3 separate regions of the Homo sapiens genome follow, and regions 2 and 3 are each linked to region 1. The links are contacts of gene promoters, found by promoter capture Hi-C in human tissues and cell types (Jung and others, 2019). All regions are on one chromosome and are shown on one strand. The core of a region is centred on a gene start or on the middle of the fragment in contact, and the rest is flanking DNA. Distances in the headings are between cores, read along the strand shown.

Region 1 (3,401 bases), core at 124-2,623:
TCTACTAAACATACAAAAAAAAATTAGCGGGGCGTGCTGGTGAACGCCTGTAATCCCAGCTACTCAGGAGGCGGAGGCGGAAGAATTGCTTGAACCAGAGAGGCAGAGGTTGCAGTGAGCTGAGATTGAACCATTGCACTCTAGCCTAAGCAACAGAGCGAGACTCTGTCTCAAAATAATAATAATAATAATTCACTTTTGGAAACTGTTCCCTACTAGATTTCAAACAACTTGGGAATGAAATCCTATTTGAGTTCATCCATGTGTATTTCCAACAAGTTCAGTGTCTTACTTATAAATAGTACTTGAAGGAATGAATACAACTTTTTCTTTATGTAGTTATTTTACACTTGATTTAAAGGAACTTTAAAAAGACGCAGTTATACCTAGAGACAGACGCCCTCCAAAAATTGTCTCACCTTCATTATTTGTGATTACTAGTTAGAGCTAGCAGAAAAAACTCCCCAGCAAGTGAAATGTCAAACCACTACTAAAAGAAAGAAAAAGAAAGGAACAGTCTTTTCTATATTTAAGTCACTTGAGAGAAAAAAGAAGAGCTGGTATTTTTCGAGTAATAATGTTCGTATTTTGTGATGCAGATACTCAATTTTACATTCTAAAAATACTACTTTTATAGTAGGAAGCAGTGTACGTTTGAATCCTGGCTCTGCCGCTTGTTGCAAGAAGTTGGTCAAGCTATCGGACCTTGCTAAGCCTTCCCTGTTGTAACTGTAAAATGTAGTAACACCATTTACCTCTAGAATGGCTGTAAATCGAGTAAGGCTTATTTAATACAGCGTCTGGCATACACCAGGCATTCAGTATGGCGCCAGTCATTAACAATAGGTGGTTACTAACTGCGATTCACTCAAAACAATACAGATGCACACGGATGAGAGTTCACACTTTGAGTCTTATTCAAAGATTGGTTATTAGCCAGGCATTTTGATAGGTGCACTCAGTTTTATTTTCGTACCTCACGGTGTATAATTACGCAAGCTCAAAAGCTAATAATTGACAGCTCACTTTGCTTTACTCTGGGTTCTGCATTGACCTCAGAGAAGACACGGCCTAGACAAACAGGCAAGGCCCAACACTGACTCAAAAAAGATCCTTTATTTAACGCAGTGTTTTTAGTGCATGCTCTCGTTTGGCGAAAGAGAAGGTTTTACGTTCAGAATATTAAAAGGGACCCCGAGGACAAAGCAGGATCTCGGAAAATAAGATCACATCCCCAAACAACTAAAAGGACAACCGAGACAAGGTTGCAGACTCCCACGCCTCTGCCCGACTCCCGGGCTTGCGCGCGCGGCTGCAGCGCGACAGGGGCGGGGCCACGGCCACAAAGCAGCCCCCGAGACCACGTGGCCTCCGAGCAGCTCAGGGCGCCCTTGAAAGTTCTTGGATCTGCGGGTTATGGCCGGTCCCTTGCAGGGCGGTGGGGCCCGGGCCCTGGACCTACTCCGGGGCCTGCCGCGTGTGAGCCTGGCCAACTTAAAGCCGAATCCCGGCTCCAAGAAACCGGTAAATGGGTGGTGGCGGTGCGGGGAAGCGCTGGGGACCCGGGCGATGAAAGCGGCCCTTCTCTCCCTGTCATTAGGAGAACTGCCCTTTCTAGGAGAGTGTTGGGATGAAAATAGGATTGCCTCATGCCTGTTCTCCCTTACTGCCCAGAGGGGAATCTTTCCACGTGCACCCAGTTCTTTTTTTTTTTTTTTTTTTTTTTTCCGAGACGGAGGCTTGCTCTGTCGCCCAGAAGCAATTCTCCTGCCTCAGCCTCCCGATTAGCTGGGATTACAGGCGCCCGCCATCACGCCCGGCTAATTTTTGTATTTTTAGTAGAGACGTGGTTTCACCGTGTTGGCCAGGCTGGTTTTGAACTCCTGAGCTCGCGATCCGCCTGCCTCGGCCTCCCAAAGTGCTGGGATTACAGGCGTGAGCCACCGCCCCCGGCCGCACCCAGTTCTTAATAAGGTTATGTTTACAAGTGTAAAGATACCAGGCGGAGAAGCCGACTCGCTGAAACTACAAAGTCTTTGTGTCATTCAAAATTGGATTTAAAATGAAATGTTTTCCCGGTGTATCTTTATGTTCATTGGAAAGATCTGAATTGCAGCTGTCCCTTCTGCAGTTGACTAAATAGAGCTAGAAAAGCTGTTAGTTGACAATGTACTGTCATTTTAACAGTCAGTTCATTGCTTTCGTGAAATGACAGGAAATTAAGGAAAAGATTTTCTTCAACAGATCAGTTTTCAAATAAAATTACAGGTTTATGAATAACATTTGCATATTTACAATTAATTTCAGAATAAATTCTTGCCTATCATTTAAAATGTTGTGAATATTTAATTCTAGGATTTTTTTCGGTTTCAACCTATTATAAAAACCTTATCCCCATCCTAACCTTTACTTTTTGCTTTTGAAACACACTTGGACTTTGGTTACAAGAATTAGCTATGTCTTTAGAGGCAAAGATGCTAACAGAGTGTGTGGAGCTTTGAGCAACTAGGACATGCTTGACACAATAGTGTTAGCTAGCACTGGTGGGCTGGATGAATGAACAGCATAACAAAAAGTGAAGAGCTGAAATGCAGTTTTTAGAAATGCATCTGAAATTCATAAAATTCTTTTTTTTCCTTGCAGGAGAGAAGACCAAGAGGTCGGAGAAGAGGTAGAAAATGTGGCAGAGGCCATAAAGGAGAAAGGCAAAGAGGAACCCGGCCCCGCTTGGGCTTTGAGGGAGGCCAGACTCCATTTTACATCCGAATCCCAAAATACGGGTTTAACGAAGGACATAGGTAAGGTTGCTTTGCTTTTTAAAGTACAGGTCCCCAATTTCCATTAAAAAGCACCTAAAAATAGTTTGGTAGAAATTTTGGTGGAAATTGTAAATTCACTTTGAAGCAAACTTTTGCTACTGTTCCCCTGAACCATTTTTTGGTAATGAAATCTTGCCTGGATTATTAAAAGGAAAAGAGGCCCAGACACTGCACTTAGACCTGCAAAATGGAGATTCTAATGCCAGCTCTAATGGTTATTAAAAGAGTGAGCAATAATAGACAGTATACATAAAAATCTGGCCCACTGTAGTCACCTAATAAATGATAACTACCATTATTACTTTGAGCTCCATAGTAAGTTAAATTTTCCACAGATTTATTTGTGTAAATAAGTGAAGTAAATGCTTAGAGAGGGAAATAATTTTTAGTGGAACAAAGGTGGTACAGGTTTGTTTTCATTACCCAAAATCAAGCAGTATTACATGTTTGTGTTACACTCAAGAGGGTTTTGTTTAGTTAAATAAAATTGGTGGAGGAAAACACAAGACAAAGCTTTGAGTTGATTTCGAGAAGTTACAGGAAGATGAGAGTTTTCCAACTCTTACATTCTTGTTTTACAGT
Region 2 (3,582 bases), core at 461-2,960, 590 kb after region 1:
AACCCAATGGGAATGTCTGCAACACCCAGCCAAGAAGAAGAAAAGATCCATGAGTCAAAAAAACAGAAAAAAATACCCCCAGAATCTGAGGCTAGGAGTCCCTTACCTTCTTCAACTGCAAGTAAGCCACAGCTTTTGCTTTCATACTTTTGGTTTGTTTGCTGCATTATTTCTTCCTGTGGCCATTGCAGGAAGACTATTAAATTATTTTTACAGCATATATTATGTTATACCACATGGACTGCTTGTAAGCTGTTATCTTGCTTTTTTATGCCTTAAGTTTTATATTATAAAGAATACATATATTTTTAAATGTGTTTCTTTGTCTTAAATTTAATGTTCACCCAGAACAATGAGTTGAAAAGAAGATAGTATTAAATTATAACATCAATTGGACTATCACCTACAAAATATTTTATGAATATATTTTATGAAAAACAGTAAATTCTCACTAAAGTCTAAGCAATGAAAAAAATAATTTCTATTTCTCTGGTATAGAAACTGAAGCTTAAAAAAAAGTGCTCTCGGTCCCAGAGGCTTAAATTCCTAGTTTCTATATTGGTCCATTTGATAATTTTTGTTGCTCTTAAATGTATTAACTTTTATCTGACGGGAAAGTATAATATATGATATCTGACAAATTCCGTGTATCAGAATCTAGTCATCTTTGGATAAGATGAAATAGGGGACCATCTCTGGGGGACCATTTTTTTAAAACCCGTCTTGGGAGACAGATAAATTATAATGTTACCTTTAAAAAAGTGATTTTTAAAAATTAGTTATTGGGTATGCTAGCTTTTCTTTTAGATAGTAATATAATAGACGTCTCTTGTTGACCATCCTAAGCTATTAGCTCATGAACATAGGGAAGAGAAATTAGCCTTTTGATTTTTGCTGCAAAGGACTAGTCTCAGTTTTTTATTTCCATGTCATGTCTTGAATCCATGGAGCAGTGTGAAGAATCACACTGAATGAGAAATATGTGCTTAGTTAAAATTTCTCACAGCAGAATTCAGTCTTGTGTCAGGAAGTAATGGTATCTAAATCAGGGATGGCCACCTCAAGTAAAATTTGAATTGGTTGAAAATAGCATGCTAGCCGAAATCCCTGGGGGATAGATACTTTTTTAATGAGTGGCAAAATGCTTATGAGAAAACCTTCTATATGTCTTATGAAAATTTGTTCTGGCAAAAATATTTTTTAAATGTTACCATTATGAAATTTTTAAGGATTTTTTTTACTGAGGCTGGCCAAGTAATTTGTAAAAATGACAAAATTAGGCTTCATGATAAACATAGACCTTTTCAAATAATTATTTCATTTAATTCAACATTAAATATGAATTGTGTGCCCATTAAATGTCAGATGTTATAGGTAAAACAGACTTGGTCTCTACCCTCTTGAATTTGATAGGTGAGCTGTTCAGATAAACATTAAACAATCACACAAAAATGGAAGGCTAAAACCTGATAATTGAGATGAAGGAAATATCCAGAGCATACGAGACACAAAATAAAATTTAAGTCAATAATTAATTGTAAAAAGACTTATAAGTTCTTCATTGTGGTTAATGGCAATACAGCAGAAATGGAGAGTGGGCCAAAGACTGAGAAAATGGAGACTGAGCTCAGTTTCTTCATGAACTTTTTAAAACTTTGACCTGTCACAGATTTTGGCCCTGGATATGAAATCTGGGAAGTCCAGATGATGAAGCTCCTCTAAGGCAAATGCCACTTATAAAATGCCCATGATATGGTTAAATTTTGCCTTCTCTGATTGCAGTGGGAGTGGTTTTATAAGCACCCATGATTTTAAGTGAGGAAAAAATGTCTTTATGTATGAATATTTCCCTAGAAGTCTCTCTCTCATCTGTTACTGAGTAATTAGATCATGATTCCCTTTAGTTGTCTTTTTTCTACCTCTATCAAAGGACTGCAATAGTTAAAAAGTTGCTTCTTGCAAGAAATACCTTCCTCTTGGTTTTGCACCTTAGCTGTCAAGACAGATTTGGGTTGCATTAGCCATTCATATTAAAATATGTTAGTTGAAAAACACTTTAGAAAACTTATTTTCTACTTTTAAAGATATCTAAAACCAAATATCAGTTCCTTAAGAATGAGACTATGTTTGTCCACCCACTTTTGGGATAGGGCAAGATGTATAGTTTTGGGAATGAGAAATTATAGACAAAATAAAACTGTTCTGTCTTCATTCAAAATGCTTATTTATTAAGAAGAAAGATGGAACTTTTCTCATCTACATCAAAAGGGCAAGAGGATTTAGAACTTAAAATAGCACATATATGATAAATAGTTATTTTGTAGTAGTTAAGTAGAGATATAGTGTCATTAAATTTGCAAGGCTGTCATTTAGGTCTAAACTGCATTATGATATTAATTTTGTTAGGGTGGTGGGGTTGAGGAAGGAATCTTATTTTTTTAGAATAATCTTTTTATTATGGAAAATTTTAAACACACACAAAGGTAGAGATAATGGACAAATGAACCCCCATGTACCCATCACTCAGCTTCAACAATGATCAACATAGACGTAGTTCTGTCTTAGTTATGGTCCTTCCTGCTATGCCCTACAATGTCCTCATTTAATTATTTTAAAGCAAATATAAGACACCATATTATTCATAAATACTTCAGAAATGCCATATTTTAAAAATTATTTAAGTGAGAATATACATTACTTCTGCATAATTTTAAGTTTGGAAACACTGCATTTAAACACATTCAAACCGAATATAAAAAGAGAAGACTTATGATTTGATGCTCTGAACTGAAATTGCCCTTAGATATCTTTCCGGCAACTACCTATTTCTATAAATGAGAAAATCAAGACCCAGGAAGATGAATGTTATGCAGGTCTCAGCTCCAGTCGCTTGTCTCTGTGCATGGGCACTTGAACAGTGCAGTGCAGCCATCCTGCCAGTCCATCATCTGTTTGTGGTGGCATGTTCTACAGTGTTGCCAGGCAAATCCTAATCTGTGCCAAAGTCTCAGCCATGGCATTTTCTTTCCTAAATATGTTTAGGTGCCAATACTTTAAAAACAAATAAACCTGGGCAGAAAAAAAATCTATTATTAAGTTGAAGTCTTCCTTAAAAACAGCAGTCAGTAAATTCTGAAAAATCTTGGGTAGTCATGTTTGACTAAAAATAATTTCATTCCGAAAAAAAGTAGAACACATCAAGCATACAGGAAAATCTTAAAATTATATCAACTTACTACTCCCCCAAAGAGCACTTTAAAATCTATTTATGCTTGTGCATATATGTATGTATATACACTTGTAGATTATATTAAATATATCATTTTGTAACCTTCTCAGTTAATAGAAGGTACTAATCATTAAAGAATTTTTCATAATAAATATTTTAAATAAAATTTAATAACTACAAATAATCCATTTTGTTGACGTAGCATAACATATTTACCTATTTTCTTATTATAATTTGTAATGGATGCTCATCTATATATTATTTCATTAGAATAATTCCCATAAATGGAATTACAAGATAATGAATTATATTAATGGTTATTCTTGTTGTAATTTTTGTGTCCTTTTTAATAT
Region 3 (3,405 bases), core at 413-2,912, 610 kb before region 1:
ATCTTAAGAGCTGAGCTCCCCAAAAAAAAATTCTTGGCCTTTTTAAGGGCTCACAACTTTAAGGGGTCTACGTGAAAGGGTCACAAGCATGGGGAATGTGACTGGGGGCTACATGCATCAGCTAACAGAACAGAAAGTTTTACAATGCTTCCTCATACAATGTCTGGAATTTACAGATAACACAAATAGTTGAGGTCAGGGGTTGATATTATTATTATTTTTATTATTATTATTATTATTTAACCATCAGGGCAGGGTGGTGGCCCCAAGGTCATCTGGCTATTTATCTTACTTTTTTTCTTTTTAACTTTTTGCTTTCTCCTTTTTCTCTTGTTTTATAAACTAGGCAAGGCGGAGAGCAGCAGGAGAACTGGTGGTCTCCTTCCTCACTATGACTTAAAAAAAAAAAACAAGAGTCCCTTCAAAATATTACTGCTCATTGACAATGCACTTGGTCACTCAAGAGTCCTGACAGAGAGGTACAAGGATATTTTCAGACCTGCAAACACAACATCGCTTCTGAAGCCCATGGTTCAAGGACTAATTCCAACTTTCAAGTCTTGTAATTTAAGAAATACATTCCCTAACACTATAACTGCCATAGATGGTGATTCCTCTGATGGACTAGAAAAGGAAATTGAAAACATTCTGGAAAGTATTCATTCTTCTAGATGCCACTCTAGAACATTCATGATTCATGACATCAAAATATCAACATTAACTGTAGTTTGGAAGAAGTTAATTTTAACCTTCATAGGTGATTTTGACGGGTTCAAGGTTTCAGTGGAGGAAGCAACAGCAGATGCGATAGAAATAGCAAGAGAACTAGAAGTGGAGCCTGAAGGTGGGACTGAATTTCTACAATCAAGGTGGGACTGAATTTCTGCAATCTCATGATAAAACTTGAACAGATGAGGAACTGCTTCTTATGAAGGAGGAGCAAAGAAAGTGGTTTCTTAAGATAGAATCTACTCTTGGTGAAGGTGCTATTTACATTGTTGTAATAACAATAAAGGATTTAGAGTACTGCATAAACTTAGTTCATAAAGCAGCAGCAGAGTTTGAGAGTGTTGGCTCCAATTTTGAAAGAAGTTCTATTGCAGGTAAAATGCTATAAAACAGCATTGCATGCTACAGAGAAATAAAAGGAAGAGTCAATTGCTTCCTTTCTTTCATAAAAGGAAGAGTCAATTGCTCTGGCAAACTCCATTGTTGTCTTAACAAACTGCCACAGCCACCACAATCTTCAGCAACCACCACCCTGATCATTCAGCAGCCATCAACATCAAAGCAAGACCCTTCACCAGCAAAAAGATGATGGTTTGCTGAAGGCTCAGATCATTGTTAGCATTTTTAGCAATAAAATATTTTGAATTAAGATATGTACATTATTTTTTACACATAACACAACTGCACACTCAATAGATTACAGTGCAGTGTAAGCATAACTTTTATATGAATTAGGGAAAAAATGTATGTGACTCATTTTATTGCAATATTTGCTTTACTGCAGTGGTCTGGAATGGAACCCACAATATTTCTGGGGTGTACCTGTCACAATCTGAGCTTATATAGTACTTCATAGTTGTAATTTATTTCATTATTACAATGGCCTTATGATGTTAGTATATTATTGTCCCACTTTCACAGATAAATGAATTGATGCACAGAGAGGCTAAACATATCATCCCTGAAAGTCACACAGCTATTAAGAAACAGAGCTGATTTGGAACTCAGGATATCTGGCTCCAGAAACTGTGCTCTTAACACTGGGCAAGGTGTCATTTATTGACCAACAGCTGGTCTCCCTCACCACACCTTGCTTAGTTTATCATTTGCCTTCAGAGTACTTCACAGTCTCCTGCAGGCACCTGCCCACCTCTCTAGGGGGCTGTTGGTGCCTGGGCCGACTGGCCCACATGAAGGCTCTAGGATCACACCACTGGTGACTGGTTAAGGGGCCCACGTGATGTGGTCATTAAAATAAAACTTGGCTTCTGGTGCTGGCCTCATAATATACTCTAGCTCCTAGCAAGACAAGTTTCTCTAGGCCAGGACCCCCCTTACATTTTACCCCCAGAATCTAGAGAGCTGTCCCCATTCTCAGACTTTCCACTAATGCTGGGTTCCCAAGCACCTTTCAAGGGGTGAGGGGAATTAAAGGAGATGTGCTCATGAAAGTAGTTAAAAATCTGTAAATCACAAAGAGACTATATGTTATTATAAAAGTTTTATGTTTTTATAAAGCCTCCAGAATAGTAGAAAACATGTATTCTTACAAATATTTGTTCAATAATGAATCAATACATATATTCACCATGAGCTGAAAATGCTTCAAAACTTTTAAAAAATCTAAACCGCAATCAAGGTCTTGTGATAGCAGCAACAGAGCTCTAATGCGATTTGGGTGACTTTGGACTACCTATCTTTACTAACATTTACCAAACTCAGACTCACATCTTAAGAAATTAGAAAATACACTCCATCTTTGCTATTCGCTGATTCAAGGTTTGTGAATTCATCTGCTTACTAAAATGTATTTGTCACTCCAAAGTCAATATTCACAGTGTTTGTACAGTCCTTGCAGACATGGATAGAGAGGCAAAAAATTTGAGAAACCCAATGCACACTCCCAGCTGAAGTCAAACCCTCTGCCTTCTTGTTTCAGCTCTCACACTGCAAACAAGTATCCTCCCCACATTCCATTTGGTGCCATGTTTTTTGCATTTTGGGGGGCTTTTTGTTGATGATTCTGCTGTTTAAAATAACACCCTAACTATGGTGCTGTCTATGGTTCCTAAGTGCAAGAAGGCTGTGATGTTATTCAAGGGGAAAAATACATGCATTAGATAAGCTTCCTTCAGACACGAGTTACAGTGCTGTTGTCCATGAGTTCAATGTTAATGAATCAATGATATGTATTAAGCAAGGTGTCTTTAAATAGAAACACACAAAAAACAAGCTCATGTATTGATCAGTGGACAAAAATGTTTTGACTAGTGGCTTGCAGTGACCTAACCCTGTATTTTTCCTGGGAGCAATGCTTCTGAATTTACTAATTCAGAGTTCACAGCGACATTATAGAATACAACTGCCACTAATAAGAAGAAGCAACTGTATATTTCTAAGATAATAATCACATAACAGAAAACACTGATTTTTTAAAATCCCAGTAGCTAGCAAGAAGCCTTTTCTGGACAAAATCTATAGTTCAAGCATTCAAATCTCCATGTCATAATTTATCCCAGGATTTATTTCATCGGCCCCAAGCCACCCAGAAAATAACCTGCTCTATAGTGTTCTGTGGCTGATGCCCAATTCATGAGAGTCCCTGTTATACAGCTACTTAGAGCTCTGAGTACTGATAGGATAAAGAGCTGCAATTATCCAGGCATGGTGTCTCAT

The links. The method cuts DNA at HindIII sites, captures the fragments that hold promoters and counts their contacts. A contact is called where the count stands out against the background at its distance.
Region 2: a fragment that was not itself captured here is called in contact with the fragment with the promoter of MRPL15 in region 1 in 1 of the 25 tissues and cell types used here (dorsolateral prefrontal cortex).
Region 3: a fragment that was not itself captured here is called in contact with the fragment with the promoter of MRPL15 in region 1 in 1 of the 25 tissues and cell types used here (lymphoblastoid cells).

What each region holds. Positions count from the first base shown.
Region 1 is chr8:54,133,868-54,137,268 of GRCh38, forward strand. It overlaps MRPL15 (mitochondrial ribosomal protein L15), which reads left to right and starts at 1,374. Exons shown (of 5, transcript NM_014175.4): 1 at 1,374-1,524; 2 at 2,644-2,798; 3 at 3,401. The coding sequence starts at 1,417. The HindIII fragment of the contact is 21,249 bases long and covers 1-3,401 here.
Region 2 is chr8:54,726,356-54,729,937 of GRCh38, forward strand. It overlaps a transcript of RP1 not described here. Among named protein-coding and RNA genes, the nearest start is that of RP1, 110 kb to the left of the region's middle. The HindIII fragment of the contact is 3,872 bases long and covers 1-3,582 here.
Region 3 is chr8:53,525,286-53,528,690 of GRCh38, forward strand. LOC124901947 (a long non-coding RNA gene) reads left to right here. Exons shown (of 2, transcript XR_007060913.1): 2 at 347-1,378. Among named protein-coding and RNA genes, the nearest start is that of LINC02984, 3.0 kb to the left of the region's middle. The HindIII fragment of the contact is 3,762 bases long and covers 1-3,405 here.